2 separate regions of the Homo sapiens genome follow, and region 2 is linked to region 1. Evidence: promoter capture Hi-C in 16 types of primary human blood cells and fetal thymus (Javierre and others, 2016). All regions are on one chromosome and are shown on one strand. The core of a region is centred on a gene start or on the middle of the fragment in contact, and the rest is flanking DNA. Distances in the headings are between cores, read along the strand shown.

Evidence for each region. Contacts are between HindIII fragments. The CHiCAGO score rates a contact against its expected background, and 5 or more counts as called.
Region 2: a contact is called between a fragment that was not itself captured here and the fragment with the promoter of SPTY2D1 in region 1, in 1 of 17 cell types (naive B cells). The highest score is 5.3, in naive B cells.

Annotation. Positions count from the first base shown.
Region 1 is chr11:18,629,632-18,636,105 of GRCh38, reverse strand. SPTY2D1 (SPT2 chromatin protein domain containing 1) reads left to right here and starts at 1,764. Exons shown (of 6, transcript NM_194285.3): 1 at 1,764-1,908. The coding sequence starts at 1,849. LOC105376578 (a long non-coding RNA gene) reads right to left here and starts at 1,757. Exons shown (of 2, transcript XR_931097.3): 1 at 1,145-1,757; 2 at 113-226. RefSeq lists an enhancer at 1,274-1,543 and a silencer at 2,600-2,779. The HindIII fragment of the contact is 3,460 bases long and covers 1-3,068 here.
Region 2 is chr11:18,075,171-18,082,326 of GRCh38, reverse strand. It overlaps SAAL1 (serum amyloid A like 1), which reads left to right. Exons shown (of 12, transcript NM_138421.3): 11 at 824-916; 12 at 1,836-2,035. The coding sequence ends at 1,928. Among named protein-coding and RNA genes, the nearest start is that of SAAL1, 27 kb to the left of the region's middle. The HindIII fragment of the contact is 2,953 bases long and covers 3,347-6,299 here.

The DNA of each region.
Region 1 (6,474 bases), core at 515-3,014:
GATAGCTCAGGAAGAGCTTCCTTGAGAAATGATGGTTGGCATTAATTGAAAACACCATATGCCAGTGTATTCGTTTGCTAGGGCTGCCAATAACAAAGTACCACAGACTAGGTGGCCTAAACAACAGACATTTATTGTCTTAACAATTCTGGTGGCTAGAATTCCATGATCAAGGTGTGGTTACCTTGAGGTCTCTCTCCTTGGTTTGTACATGGCTGTCTTCTCCCTGTGTTTTCACAAAACGATGTAGGAAAGAAAGGCTAATCTATAATCAGAGGAACAAACGCAGCTGCCTGTTATGTAGCTCAGGTTCCATAATAACATTCTTTTAAGGCGCAAAATAACTTAAAGTTCCAACAGCTTTGATTTTGAATTACGTTCGCAGCATTAAACCATCAAAGAGTAAGAGCCAGCAGCTTTGTCTAGCATGTTTTTTGTTTTTTTTTTTTGAGACGGAGTCTCGCTCTGTCGCCCAGGCTGGAGTGCAGTGGCGGGATCTCGGCTCACTGCAAGCTCCGCCTCCCGGGTTCACGCCATTCTCCTGCCTCAGCCTCCCAAGTAGCTGGGACTACAGGCGCCCGCCACTACGCCCGGCTAATTTTTTGTATTTTTAGTAGAGACGGGGTTTCACCGTTTTAGCCGGGATGGTCTCGATCTCCTGACCTCGTGATCCGCCCGCCTCGGCCTCCCAAAGTGCTGGGATTACAGGCGTGAGCCACCGCGCTCGGCCTGTCTAGCATGTTTTAACAGCTTGACATATTTACATACTGTATCATTCTCACCCGTCTTAAGTGTACGATTTTTAGTACATGTATAGTGCAACCATCCCCACAATCCAGTTTGGAGGCATTTCCATCCCACCGAAAAGATCCCGAGTACCTGTTTGCTATCAATCCCCTGGCGGGTTCCCACTTGCAGACCCAGGTTTGCCTAATTATTTTCAGTGTTTTTGCTAAGTCGAAATGACCTTACAGATCCAAGATAACTCTCCAAAAGAAGTCAGGACTAGGATCCCAATGAATATGAATATGAAGCATATGTTCATCAGTACACCAAAGTTATGTCAAGGCTGGGTCTGTATGTGAAATTCCTTAATCCATTGCCTGAGCAAAAACACAGGTTGGCTGCTCCACATAAAACTTACTTTCTAAACGGGGCAAAAGAAGTAAGCGCGTGCCCCCATCCCCGGCACGCGTGCATCTGAGTAGGAGGTAAGCGCACGGCATGTGGCCGAATTTGATGAGTAATGGGCATCCAAGACAGGACCACGGCGCTGCTGTGTGCGCCTGCGCAGCTTCGCGAGCGCCTAGACACAAGTAGCCCAAACCCCGGCTCGAGATCCGTCTGTTCAGCTGTTGTGGCGCCGCCGTTTTGGATCTAAGCGCCTACCCGTGACACCCAGAGAACCCAGGCCTGGCAAGTAAACCCTCTACCCCCTCACTTTCTCTACCCAGCGCTCACAAGGAGCAACAAGATGACAAGACCGCGCGCCCGGGCCACCAGGGAAGCCGCTCTCTCGCTTAGCCACACCCCCTTGGTTGCTAAAATGCCTAGTCCCTGCCCCTCGGGTCGACGCCAGCAGCCACGTATCACGTTTGTACGTGTCTCGGCCTAAAAGCGGAAGTTACGCAGGGACTCGCGAGCGCTGTGGCGGCCCTGAAAGGATATAGGCCGTGGAGGGAAGGGGGCGGGCAGACGGCATAGGAAGGCGCCGGAAGTGGTCCCGCAGAGGCGGGGTGGGAGTGGGGCTCCCGAGGCAGTGCAGTTGGCTGTAGCTGGGCGCCTCGGTTAGGTGCGCTGTCAGTCCTTTCCGAGTGCCTGGCCCAGTCTCTCCCGCCTCGGCCCAACATGGACTTCAGAGAAATTCTCATGATAGCTTCCAAGGGACAAGGTGTCAACAATGTGCCGGTAAGTAGCAGCTGGGGCATCAATGTAGGGGACCCTAGTCTTCCAAGTTCGGAATGTGTGTGGCCCATGGAACTTCTGGGCAGCCGCCTATCGGCTCCGGGAGAGGAAAGACCCGGACGCCTTATTTCCTTTTCTTGGGTTTATACTCTTGGGAACTCGGGAGAAAAGAGCTTGGGACGAGACGCGGGAGCCTTCCTGTGAATGGGTTTCGCCGGCTTATTTACCCCTGCAACAGGGACTTTGCGGTTTGGGTGTTGTAGCTAGAATTGCGTGAAAGCCGTGAGTGAGCTGTGCCTGGCACGCTGTGGATTCTAGCGCTGGTAGTTTTTGGCTTCCACATAAACTTCAGCCTAGAGATTGGGAAGGAAATATGTATGTAAGGGAGTTAGGGGGTTTGGGGTCCTTGGCTTGATAGCTTTTTGGCTGGCTTCTCATCGATCTTCAAGTCAAACGTTTAGCGATTTCTTGAAAGAATTCTCTGACTCGGCCCCACCCACTCAGCCACCGAGGTGATTAAATTATCACCTCCCAGGGGATAGGTATCATCTTTTGGGAAGAGAAGTTTAGCAGATTCCACGAAATCCTTGGCCAACAGAATAGGTGAGCTAGTTTCAGCTTCTGTTTACTTGTAGCCTTCCAGATTTCAGTCTTTGTTTAAAATCTAGGTCCCATTTGGTCAGTAGATGTTTGTCAGTTCGCTTACAGTCGCAAGAGCGGTGTAAGACTTAAATGGTAAAGTGGTGGAGAGCGCCTGGTTTCTGGGGGTTATGGCTGTTTTGCATAAGCTAATCATTTCCAGATTTTCAGATGGTACCCACAGCACAGCTGTAAACCGATAAGTTGCATGGTGATGCCTGCGGTTTGAGCAGTGAGGTATAGAACTAAAACGGCTCTCAAAGTCAATTCAGCTAGAATTTATTGAGCTCCGACGAAGTGCTCTGCATTTCCTAGATATTCGTATATTGCAATATTCGTTTTTTTCTCTTCTGCAGCTTTTTTTTGTCTTCTGAGGCTAGTTCATTCTTTTATCCCTTTGAAAATATTGATCTGAAAAAGGTCTATATTTATGTTTATAAATATATGTATATATACACACACACAGCCATCCCTTATCCCAAGAACTCTGAATAACCATTCCTCTAAGCCGTGAGTCATAAGCTTTGCATGTTGAAGGTATAGACTCAAACCTTTGAAACCCAGATCAACAGATTTACTTTCTAGAAGCATCTGTAAATTTTCCAGATGAATCAATATTGGGTCTAGTAACCATTCATCTTTGCATAATTTGGTCTGTATTTCATTCTAGATCTTATTGAATTTCAGTAAAGGTCAAAGATAGTACTAGCTTTGATGCCCAGTACTGTTCTGTGGAAGAATCAGAACTAAGTCATTTCTTATTCTGAAAGCCAGTAGCTGCTGGGAGAAAAGCAGACAGATAATCCTAAAGCAGAAAATTTCAAAATATGTGTATATGTCATAATATATGCATTATCTATGATTGGAATAACAGAAGAATCAAAAAGGGGAAAAAAGTAATTTAAAATTTAATAGATGGGCGCAATGGCTCAGGCCTGTAATCCCAGCACTTTGGGAGGCCTAGGCGGGAGAATCACCTGAAGTCAGGAGTTTGAGACCAGCCTGACAAATATGATGAAACCCCATCTCTACTAAAAATACAAAAATTAGCCGGGCATGGTGGTGTGCGCCTGTAATCCCAGCTACTTGGGAGGCTGAGACAGAATTGCTTGAACCCAGGAGGCGGAGATTGCAGTGAGCTGAGATCGTGCGATTGCACTCCAGCCTGGGCAACAAGAGAAAAACTTCATTTCAAAAAAAAAAAAATCAATAGATAATATAGCCATATATTTTATGAATCATGCATTCTCTGACCTCTCCCCGCCAAAGCTAGTAAGCCTAGAAGTTTGATTTAGTTACCAGCATTATAATTCTTATCTTTTTATGTGGAATTAAAGTCACAAAAGAAACTATTGAGGAATAGGATAAGACTGTAGTTAAATTTCTTCTTCTTCTTTTTTTTTTTTTTTAAGATAGAGTCTCACTCTGTCGTCCGGGCTGGAGGCTGGAGTGCAGTGGCATGGTCTCGGCTCACTGCAGCCTCCACCTGCTGAGTTCAAGCAATTCTCCTGTCTCAGCCTCTTGAGTAACTGGGACTACAGGCACCTGTCACCACATCAAGCTAACTTTTGTATTTTTGGTAGAGACAGGGTTTCACCATGTTGGCCAGGCTGGTCTTGAACTCCTTCCTCAAGTCATTCGCCCACCTCGGCTTCCCAAAGTGCTGAAATTACAGGTGTGAGCCACCACACCCGGCCAAATTTCATGCTTTACTTGATTTGCTTTAACTTGATTCATCTAACTGTTCTATTTACTTTTTCCTTATCAGCTTAAAGTAATTTGGACACTTTCAAACATAAGGAATGTTAACACATTTCTAATATACCCAAACCCCGTATTTAGCATATTAACATTTCCCCATATTTATTCCATCTATTTTAAAAGAAATAAAGCTTTTTTTCTTTTTTTGCCATCTATTTTAAAAGAAATAAAGTGTTTGGTGGTTTTTTTTTTTTTTTTGTTATCTATTTTAAAAGAAATAAAGCTTTTTCTTTTCTTTTCTTTTTTTTGAGATGGAGTCTCTGTTGCCCAGGCTGGAGTGCAGTGGCGAAATCTTGGCTCACTGCAAGCTCCGCCTCGCAGGTTCAAGCCATTCTCCTGCCTCAGCCTCCTGAGTAGCTGGGAATACAGGGGTGCACCACCACGCCCAGTTAATTTTTTTGTATTTTTAGTAGAGATAGGGCTGGTATCAAACTCCTGGCCTCAAGTGATCAGCCCACCTCAGCCTCCCAGACTGCTGTGAGTACAGGTGTGAACCACTGAGCCAGGCCTGTCTTGAAATGTTTCTTGACTTCGATGGTAGCTTAAAAGGATACTTGCTTTCTAATAATCTGTTACCCTGTACACTATGTCTATGATTTTCACAATTATTAAAAACAAAGAGAGAGTTGGGGACTATCGTATCAATTAACAGCTTTATTTCTGGCTGGGTGCTGTGGCTCACACCTTTAATCCCAGCACTTTGGGAGGCCAAGGTGGGCAGATCACCTGAGATCAGGAGTTTGAGACCAGCCTGGCCAATGTGGTGAAACCCCGTCTCTACTAAAAATGCAAAAATTAGCCAGGCATGGTGGGGCACACCTGTAATCTCAGCTACTCAGGAGGCTGAGGCAGGAGAATGGCTTGAACTTGAGAGGCGGAGGTTGCAGTAAGACAGAGGTTGCAGTGAGTGGAGATCGTGCCACTGCACTCCAGCCGGGGTGACAGAGCGAGACTCTGTCTCAAATGAAAAGAAAAATAAAATAAAATAAAAAAAGACAGCTACATCCCTCCCTGCCCTATACACACCCTGCTGTTATAAATTTACTTGATTAATTGATCTGAGAACCACAGAGGCTTTGCAATAACTAACTAGGCTGCATCTCTCTCTATTGATTGGTTCATTTTTCCCTGTTCGCCAACTTCTTCTCCCACCTTCATTTGGAACCTATCAGAGCTAATGCTCAGAATTTCAGTCTTCAGAGTTCTTGGGTCAGACCTTTACTATGGTAAGGAAATCCAGTGACTAGCGATGATTAGACTAAAATCCAAACACCTGTACAGCCACTTCAGCCTTTCAGACTCTTTGCAGAGCTTTTTGTTGTTATTTTGAGACGAGTCTCGTTCTGTCACCAGGCTGGAGTGCAGTGGCGCTATCTCTGCTCACTGCAGCCTCCACCTTCTGGGTTCAAGCGATTCTCCTGCCTCAGCCTCCCAAGTAGCTGGGATTACAGGCGCATGCCACCACACCCAGCTAATTTTTGTATTTTTAGTAGAGATGGGGTTTCACCATGTTGGTCAGGATGGTCTCAATCTCCTGAGCTCGTGATCCACCTGCCTCGGCCTCCCAAAGTGCTGGGATTACAGGCATGAGCCACCATGCCCGGCCAGAGCTTTATTTTTATTTTTATTTTTTGAGACAGAGTCTTCCTCTGTCACCAGGCTGAAGTGCAGTGGCATGGTCTTGGCTCACTGTAACCTCCGCCTCCTGGGTTCAAGCCATTCTCTTGGCTTAGCCTTCCGAGTAGCTGGGATTACAGGCACCCACCACCACGCCCAGCTAATTTTTGTATTTTTAGTAGAGATGGGGTTTCACCATGTTGGCCAGGATGGTCTCGATCTCCTGACCTTGTGATCCACCCACCTTGACCTCCCAAAGTGCTGGGATTACAGGCGTGAGCCACCGTGCCCGGCAGAGCTTTATTTTTTAAAGCTACCTATTGTATCTGTCTTGAGAAGCTATGAGTATTTCCCTAATCATCATTTTTTTGTTTCTTAATTTTTAACAAATAGTTTTTTATGTTAAAGGTAGGATTGCATCAGGCCCAGAAATAGTAGGCACACTGTCATTTCCCAGTGGAAAACTGAATATATAATAACTGCTGATCAAGGTGATGAAACAAGTTGTCGTCACTGGCTCTGTTTATATATAAAGGAGAAAAGATATTTTTG
Region 2 (7,156 bases), core at 3,574-6,073, 560 kb after region 1:
AATATTTGGATGTCGTATGTTAATTTGTTTCCTACCTTTTAATAATTTATCCATTTTGATTATTTGTATGAATTTCTTGGGTAATAATGTATCTTTTCCATATTTATCGCATGTATTTTTTTCCCATTCTTTGCTGTTGTTTCTGTTTTTTGGAGCAAGGGACATCGATATTTCTTAACTTTTAAGTGGTGGGAACATCAAAGAAAGGTGGGCTGAGAATACACGAGTGCTATGTCATGCAAATTCTTATGTCATATTTAGGGGATTTAGACTTCATCTTGAAAAAGCTGAGGAACTACTAAAGATTTTTTACTTTTAAGCACCAAGTGATACGATCAGTTTAGAAAGATTACTCCAAAAGCAATAGAGAGGAAGGAGTAGAGAGAGTTGAGGCTGGAGGGCAGGAGATCAACTAACAGGCTCTTGTGGTTGGTAATCTTCAAGAATAATCTGAAAAATGATGGCAGCCTAAACAATGGAAGTTTGAATGGAGAGGAGGGATGGGGGTAAGAGAGATTTGGTAGAATAGAATTGAGCACTTGCCGGGAGGAGTCAGCAGGAGGGGAGAAGGAAAAGTCTTGGCTGTGTTCCAAGTTTGTAGTCTGTGTAGCAGGGTGGATGGTGGTGCCCTTCACTAAAGTAAAGACGACAGTGGAGAACATGTTTGGGTTACATAAGCCTCCTTGATGTTGGTGGGTTCAGGTGGGACATTTGAAATGCCTATGAAGTCAGGAGGGAATTGAATATCCTGATTTGTTTTTATTCACTAGTTAAAGCTTGAAAAATTTTCCTTTTTTGACATTAAATCTTGTTGTTGTTTTAGGAGACGGTGGCTCAGGGAGTAAAGGAAGGCCAGTTGAGCAAACAGAAGTGTTCCTCTGCATTTCAAAACCTTCTTCCTTTCTATAGCCCTGTGGTGAGTATGGGTAAATGTATATAGGTGGCCAAGTTTTGTAGGATTACTAAATGTTTTCAAGTAAGCACTTGATTTCGAGGTCATTGTCAAAAATGATAGTATATACAATTTATATGACTTAATGCCTTTGTCAGATAGATGACTGCTGGAAACAGAAAACCAAATACCGTATGTTCTCACTTGGAAGTAGGAGCTAAACCATTGGATACTATGGACATACAAATGGGAGCAGTAGACACTGGGGACCACAGGAGGAGGGGAGGGAGAGAGGGAGGGCAAGGGCTGAAAAACTACCTATTGGGTACTAAGCTCACTGCCTGGGTAACAGGTTCATCTGTGCCTCAAACCTCGGCATCATGTAATATACCTTTATAACAAACCTGCACATTTAGACTCCCCTGAGTCTACAATAAAAGTTGAGGGAAAAAAAGATGACTACTGGAAAATTCATAATAGTATTGGGAGTAACAATTCTAAGAGGAAAAAAATAAGCTCTGAATTTATAGTACTCCTTTCTGTTATGAAGTAGATAACATCTATATTAAGCCAAAATCAGATTCTTGGGAATAGTCAGTAGGTTTTTATGGTTCTTCAAATGACATCACATTTCCTACCATTAGAATCAGATTTCAAAATAGGAACTTTTTCAGGAAAATGAAGGACAGAATGTGGGAACAGACTGTAAAGAAGAGGCGGGGGGAGAAGTACTAGCTCAAGAGTAAAACGGAATGGGAAAGCATAGTCATTTCCTTGAGAATGATTTAGAAGACTGCTTAGGAAGTACTGTTACTATCATCTGGAGATCTGCCAGCATTTCTTTTCCATTGGACCATTTAGAAACCACAGGTAGAGCAATCAGTACCTTAAAGCACGTTTTTCTCTTCTGTGTTTGATTTTTGTTTGTTTGTTTGACTCACAGGTGGAAGATTTTATTAAAATCCTACGTGAAGTTGATAAGGCGCTTGCTGATGACTTGGAAAAAAACTTCCCAAGTTTGAAGGTTCAGACTTAAAACCTGAATTGGAATTACTTCTGTACAAGAAATAAACTTTATTTTTCTCACTGACAGTTGAAATTGACTTATTGGAAATATTAACTAAAGCCCATATTAGACCATAATTGTCTGGTGTTAACATTTTTCTGTCCTAGACTTGTCTCACTTTTTTTGACTTTGGAATCTGAGGTTTCACCACTGTCACCCCTCTTTTTATGTGATATTTATCATCCTCAGTTGAGGAAAGCAAAAATGTAAGCTTATCATTGAGGTTCTTTTTAGGATATGTGCGAGATCAGTGTTGATTTTCTTCATAGCTGTTAATTTTGTTTGTTTGTTTGTTTGTTTTGAGACAGAGTCTCACTCTGTCGCCCAGGCTGAAGTGCAGTGGTGCGATCTCAGCTCACTGCAAGCTCCGCCTCCTGGGTTTATGCCATTCTCCTGCCTCAGCCTCCCGAGTAACTGGGACCACAGGTGCCCGCCACCACGCCTGGCTAATTTTTTGTATTTTTAGTAGAGACAGGGTTTCACTGTGTTAGCCAGGATGGTCTCGATCTGACCTCGTGATCTGCCCGCCTTGGCCTCCCAAAGTGCTGGGATTACAGGCGTGAGCCACCGTGCCCAGCCTAATTTGATTTTTTTAAGTGAGAATTACGTCTTTGTATCCACTGTTAAGTATATTCAGCTGCAGTAACAGAAACCCTCCTGTAGCAGCTGAATCTGATCTCTTTCAGGAACCTTATGCAAAAATCCAGATGTAATGAGGTGGCTCCTTTCACCCTTCACGTGGTCTGCCAGGTAGGCCTTTGCGTTCATGTTTATTGCCTTGTGGTTAAGGGGGCTGTGCCATCTCTGGGCCTTTATCCACATTCAGGAAGAAAAAGGGAGAAAGAGAAGGGGCTTTTTCCTACCAAGTCTTTATGTGTGTTTGGCTGGGTTGGGGGGGTGCTTTTTAATAGATTTTTAAGAAAATATCTGTTAGGAATAACAAAGCCAGCTTTCTGAACCTCACTTTTGGTATAGCCCCTTCCCAATTTATATCAGTTTTTTGGCTTTAAAGCATTGGTCTTGCCTCATACTTTGTTTTCTTTCCTTGAGAGATTTTTGGTGATAAAACCAGATTTTTGGTGATAAAAACAGTAATCTTATTGGTAAGAGATAATATGATTTCCAGTTTAGAGGTAGGTTTATGGTTGGAAGTGTCACTGCTGAAAAGAACTGGAACATAAAAGTAAAATCTTACAGGTGAAATCTCATTGGTAGGTTTATATATACTACACTGTATGTATATTCGCATGTCCTCAGTGCTGACCTTATTGGTAGACTGAATTGACTATATTCAGTATGAGATTTCAAAGGCACTGATGAAATCACTCCTACCTGCTAGCTGACACGAAAATTCCACTCTTGGTTTTTTTTTTGTTTAAGTTTAAGCTTAAGATGCAAACACTGATTAAGAATAATACTTGAGGTTATTAGTTATGTTTACCTCAGTGCATATGAATTTCACTTTTTTTCTGAGAGCATGTTTTTTGTTGTTTTTTTGTTTGTTTGTTTTTAATTTTTTTTCTTTTTTTTTGAGACGGAGTCTTGCTCTATCGCCCAGGCTGGAGTGCAGTGGCGGGATCTCGGCTCACTGCAAGCTCCGCCTCCCGGGTTCACGCCATTCTCCTGGCTCAGCCTCTCGAGTAGCTGGGACTACAGGCACCAGCCACCACGCCCAGCTAATTTTTTAAATATTTTTAGTAGAGACGGGGTTTCACCGTGTTAGCCAGGATGGTCTCGACCTGACTTCATGATCCGCCCGCCTCGGCCTCCCAAAGTGCTGGGATTACAGGCGTGAGCCACCACGCCCAGCCTTCTGAGAGCGTGTTTTAAAACGGGAAGCACAAGGACCTTATGTACCTGAAGGAGTGTTCCACAAAAATGGCAAATTACAGAGGGAGGAGGAGAAAGGATAGTAGTGGGAAGGCAAGGAGTGTCCAATTTATTTTCTGCTCACATTTCTGTCTTGGACCTACACTGTTTACTTTGTTACTTCTTTATTGTTAGCATTATGAGTTTTGGTACATATTTTCATAGTACTTTGGTATGTTTGAAAACATCCTATATCTATAAATTATGATACTTTTAAGTGACCAGTGTTAAAGCATTTTTAATGCTGCATGTTCTGAAGAATTCACTCACAAGATTTAGTGCTTGAATCAGTTGCAGTGATATTTTGAAATGGTGCTTTCTCCAGAACCATAAATATGAAATTTTATATACAGATGAAATTATATACACAAATGAAATGGAAACTCATTTTTTTCCCTATACTGTTTGGCAGGGAAGAGGAAAAATGCAAAATGAGCTTGAGTTAGCATTTGTTATATTGAGTTTGATATTTTAAGTACCTAAACCACTAAGAAAGAAGGCATGGTTTCCTTCCACTGTTTTTGTTTTTGTTTTGTTTTGTTTTGTTTTGTTTTTAAGATATTTTATCCCCTACAGCAAATGGGATATAGCTAAACTGTTGTTTTCTTGGTGGGTTCAGCTTTCCAGATCAAGAGTTTCCCCACTCTATGTTTAGTATTTTCTGTTGCCTTGCTTTGAATTAGTTACTGAATAATTTTGGTATGTAAGTGGGAAAAAGTTTAAGAGCCACCTCTCAGCCTGATATACTTTTTTTTTTGGTGAAGCACATGTAGAAACCGACTATAAGCATTAAAAAACAACCTCTATTAGGGGTTCAGAAAATCTTAAGTGTATGAAATATTGAACACCATTATCTGTTCTTCAGGACTGGGCAATGATGCTGTGTCTGAGCTAGCTGTGAAGCTGATAATCTGTAACTCTAGTATTCTATTTCTTCAACTAATATTCTTTTTTAATTAATATTCTTTATGACCTAATCAATAGCCTTTTTAAAAAAGAAGAAATAGGTCCATATTAATTTAGGACTGAATTATTTATTCTACTTGAGCATGTGTTCTCTTTTACCACTTTGGAACTTCAGTTTCCTCCATGCTCCTGTCAGAAGTTTTAAGAAAGGGAAAATAGGCAAATGCCCCTCTTAACCATACCATATTTTTCTTTCCTATTTTTTTTTTTTTTTTTTTGGAGATACGGATCTCACTATATTCTTGCTAAGACTGGTTTCAAACTCCTGAGCTGAAGCAATCCTCCTGCCTCAGCATCCTGAATAGAATATGTTTTCTTTTTGTTGCTGGTTTGAGATCCAAGAACCATTATTAAAAGTTATATATTTATAGTGAAATAGTATGATGTCTTGGATTTGCTTCAAATTAGTCTGGGGCAGAGGGAAAGAAGTAAGTTAATGGAGTAGATGAAACAAGACTGGCTGCGAATTGGAGTTGCTGAAGCTGGGTGACAATTACATGGGGTTCCATTATACTTTTTTTTTTTTTTTTTTCAGAGACAAGGTCTTGCTCTGTTGCCCAGGCCAGAGTGTAGTGGCACACTCATAGGTTACTGCAGCCTCAAACTCCTGGGCTAAAGCCATCCTTCTATCTCAGTCTCCCAAATAGCTGGGACTATGGGTGCATGCCACCATGCCCAGCTAATTTTTATTTATTTATTCATTTTTATTTTATTTTGAGACAGAGTCTCACTCTGTTGCCCAGGCTGGATTGCAGTGGTGTGATCCTGGCTCACTGCAACCTCCGCCTCCCAGGTTCAAGCGATTCTCCTGCTTCAGCCTCCTGAGTAGCTGGGATTACAGGCACGCACCACCACACCTGGCTAATTTTGTGGGTTTTCTTTCTTTCTTTCTTTCTTTCTTTTTTTTTTTTTTTTTTGAGACGGAGTCTTGCTCTGTCACCTAGGCTGGAGTGCAGTGGCGCAATCGCGGCTCACTGCAACCTTCACCTCCCGGGTTCAAGCGATTCTCCTGCCTCAGCTTCCTGAGTAGCTGGGATTACAAGCGCATGCCACCATGCCCGGCTGATTTCTGTATTTTTAGTAGAAACGTGGTTTCACCATGTTGGTCAAACTTGTCTCAAACTCCTGACCTTGTGATCCGCCCACCTCTGCCTCCCAAAGTGCTAGGATTACAGGCGTGAGCCACCATGCCTAGCCTAGCTAATTTTTATATTTTTAGTAGACAGGGTTTTACCATATTGGCCAGGCTGGTCTGAAACTCCTGACCTCAGGTGATCCGCCTGTCTTGGCCTCTCAGTGGGCTGGGATTACAGGCGTGAGCCACCACACCTGGCCTATTTATTGATTTTGTAGAGATGGGTTCTCACTGTTTCCCAGGCTTGTCTTGAACTCCTGGCTGCAAACAATCCTGCCTCAGCCTCCCAAAGTGCTGGGCTTGCAGGTCACCACACCTGGCCTTCCTGTTAAAGGTTTATAAAAGCAAATAAATGATACACAACTTAAGCTTTAATTTGATTATGAATGATGCTTATTCCTTTTATGTCATTGGGCTAGTCAAACTTACAAGAGCCTGGGCCAATGTAGTCTTGAGTCTTGTGGGCCAGTCCAGCAACCAAAAAAAAAACCACAGGTGAGACTGGAAGCAGGAGGGAACCTTGTGGTGGTGCTGCTAGCCCTCCACTCACCTCTCATACTATTTGTTCATCAACCTGACTGCTTTGTATTTCTATATAGAATGCAAAATCTGCATCGCTAAGCTTTTATGATGTATCTTAGATAATTTGCATGAGGTCACATTTGCTTAAATCCAATTTTATACAACCCAAGGAACATCTGTAATATAAAAGCCAGAAAACCTCCATAAGTTCACATTTCACAGCCAAGGATTTCGTAATATCAGGCTACTCCTTCTATCATTATGATTGTGCCCATGTGATTGCCCTTTCTGAACAACTGTGTTTTCCCTGGACGTTTGCAAGATTCTATAGTGTAGTAACATCATGGAGTAGGGCATTCTCATTTTATCCTAATTGTTCATGCCTCAGGGCTCTGGCAAGGATCACAATTCTGGGAGAGGGTCATGCCACACTGAAATTAGACCTGGAGGGGAGAGGATCTGTACCCAAGGAGGTGGCATCAGGGTCTGCTCTGAGTCCCTGTGTCACCTGGCTTCCTTATTTCCGTTTCTTCTTTCTTAGGACTTCAGCTTGTCTGTGGTCTCTCAAGACCACACCAGCCTGTCTTTTTTGGGGGGTTGTGTTCTGCCAGCTTAATCACTTTATTCTCTTGGTATTTCTTTAAATTTGTGAGAGAGAAATTCTTGCGCAGTTACTAGTCTTTTTGTATCAAGCAGTGTGAGTCAC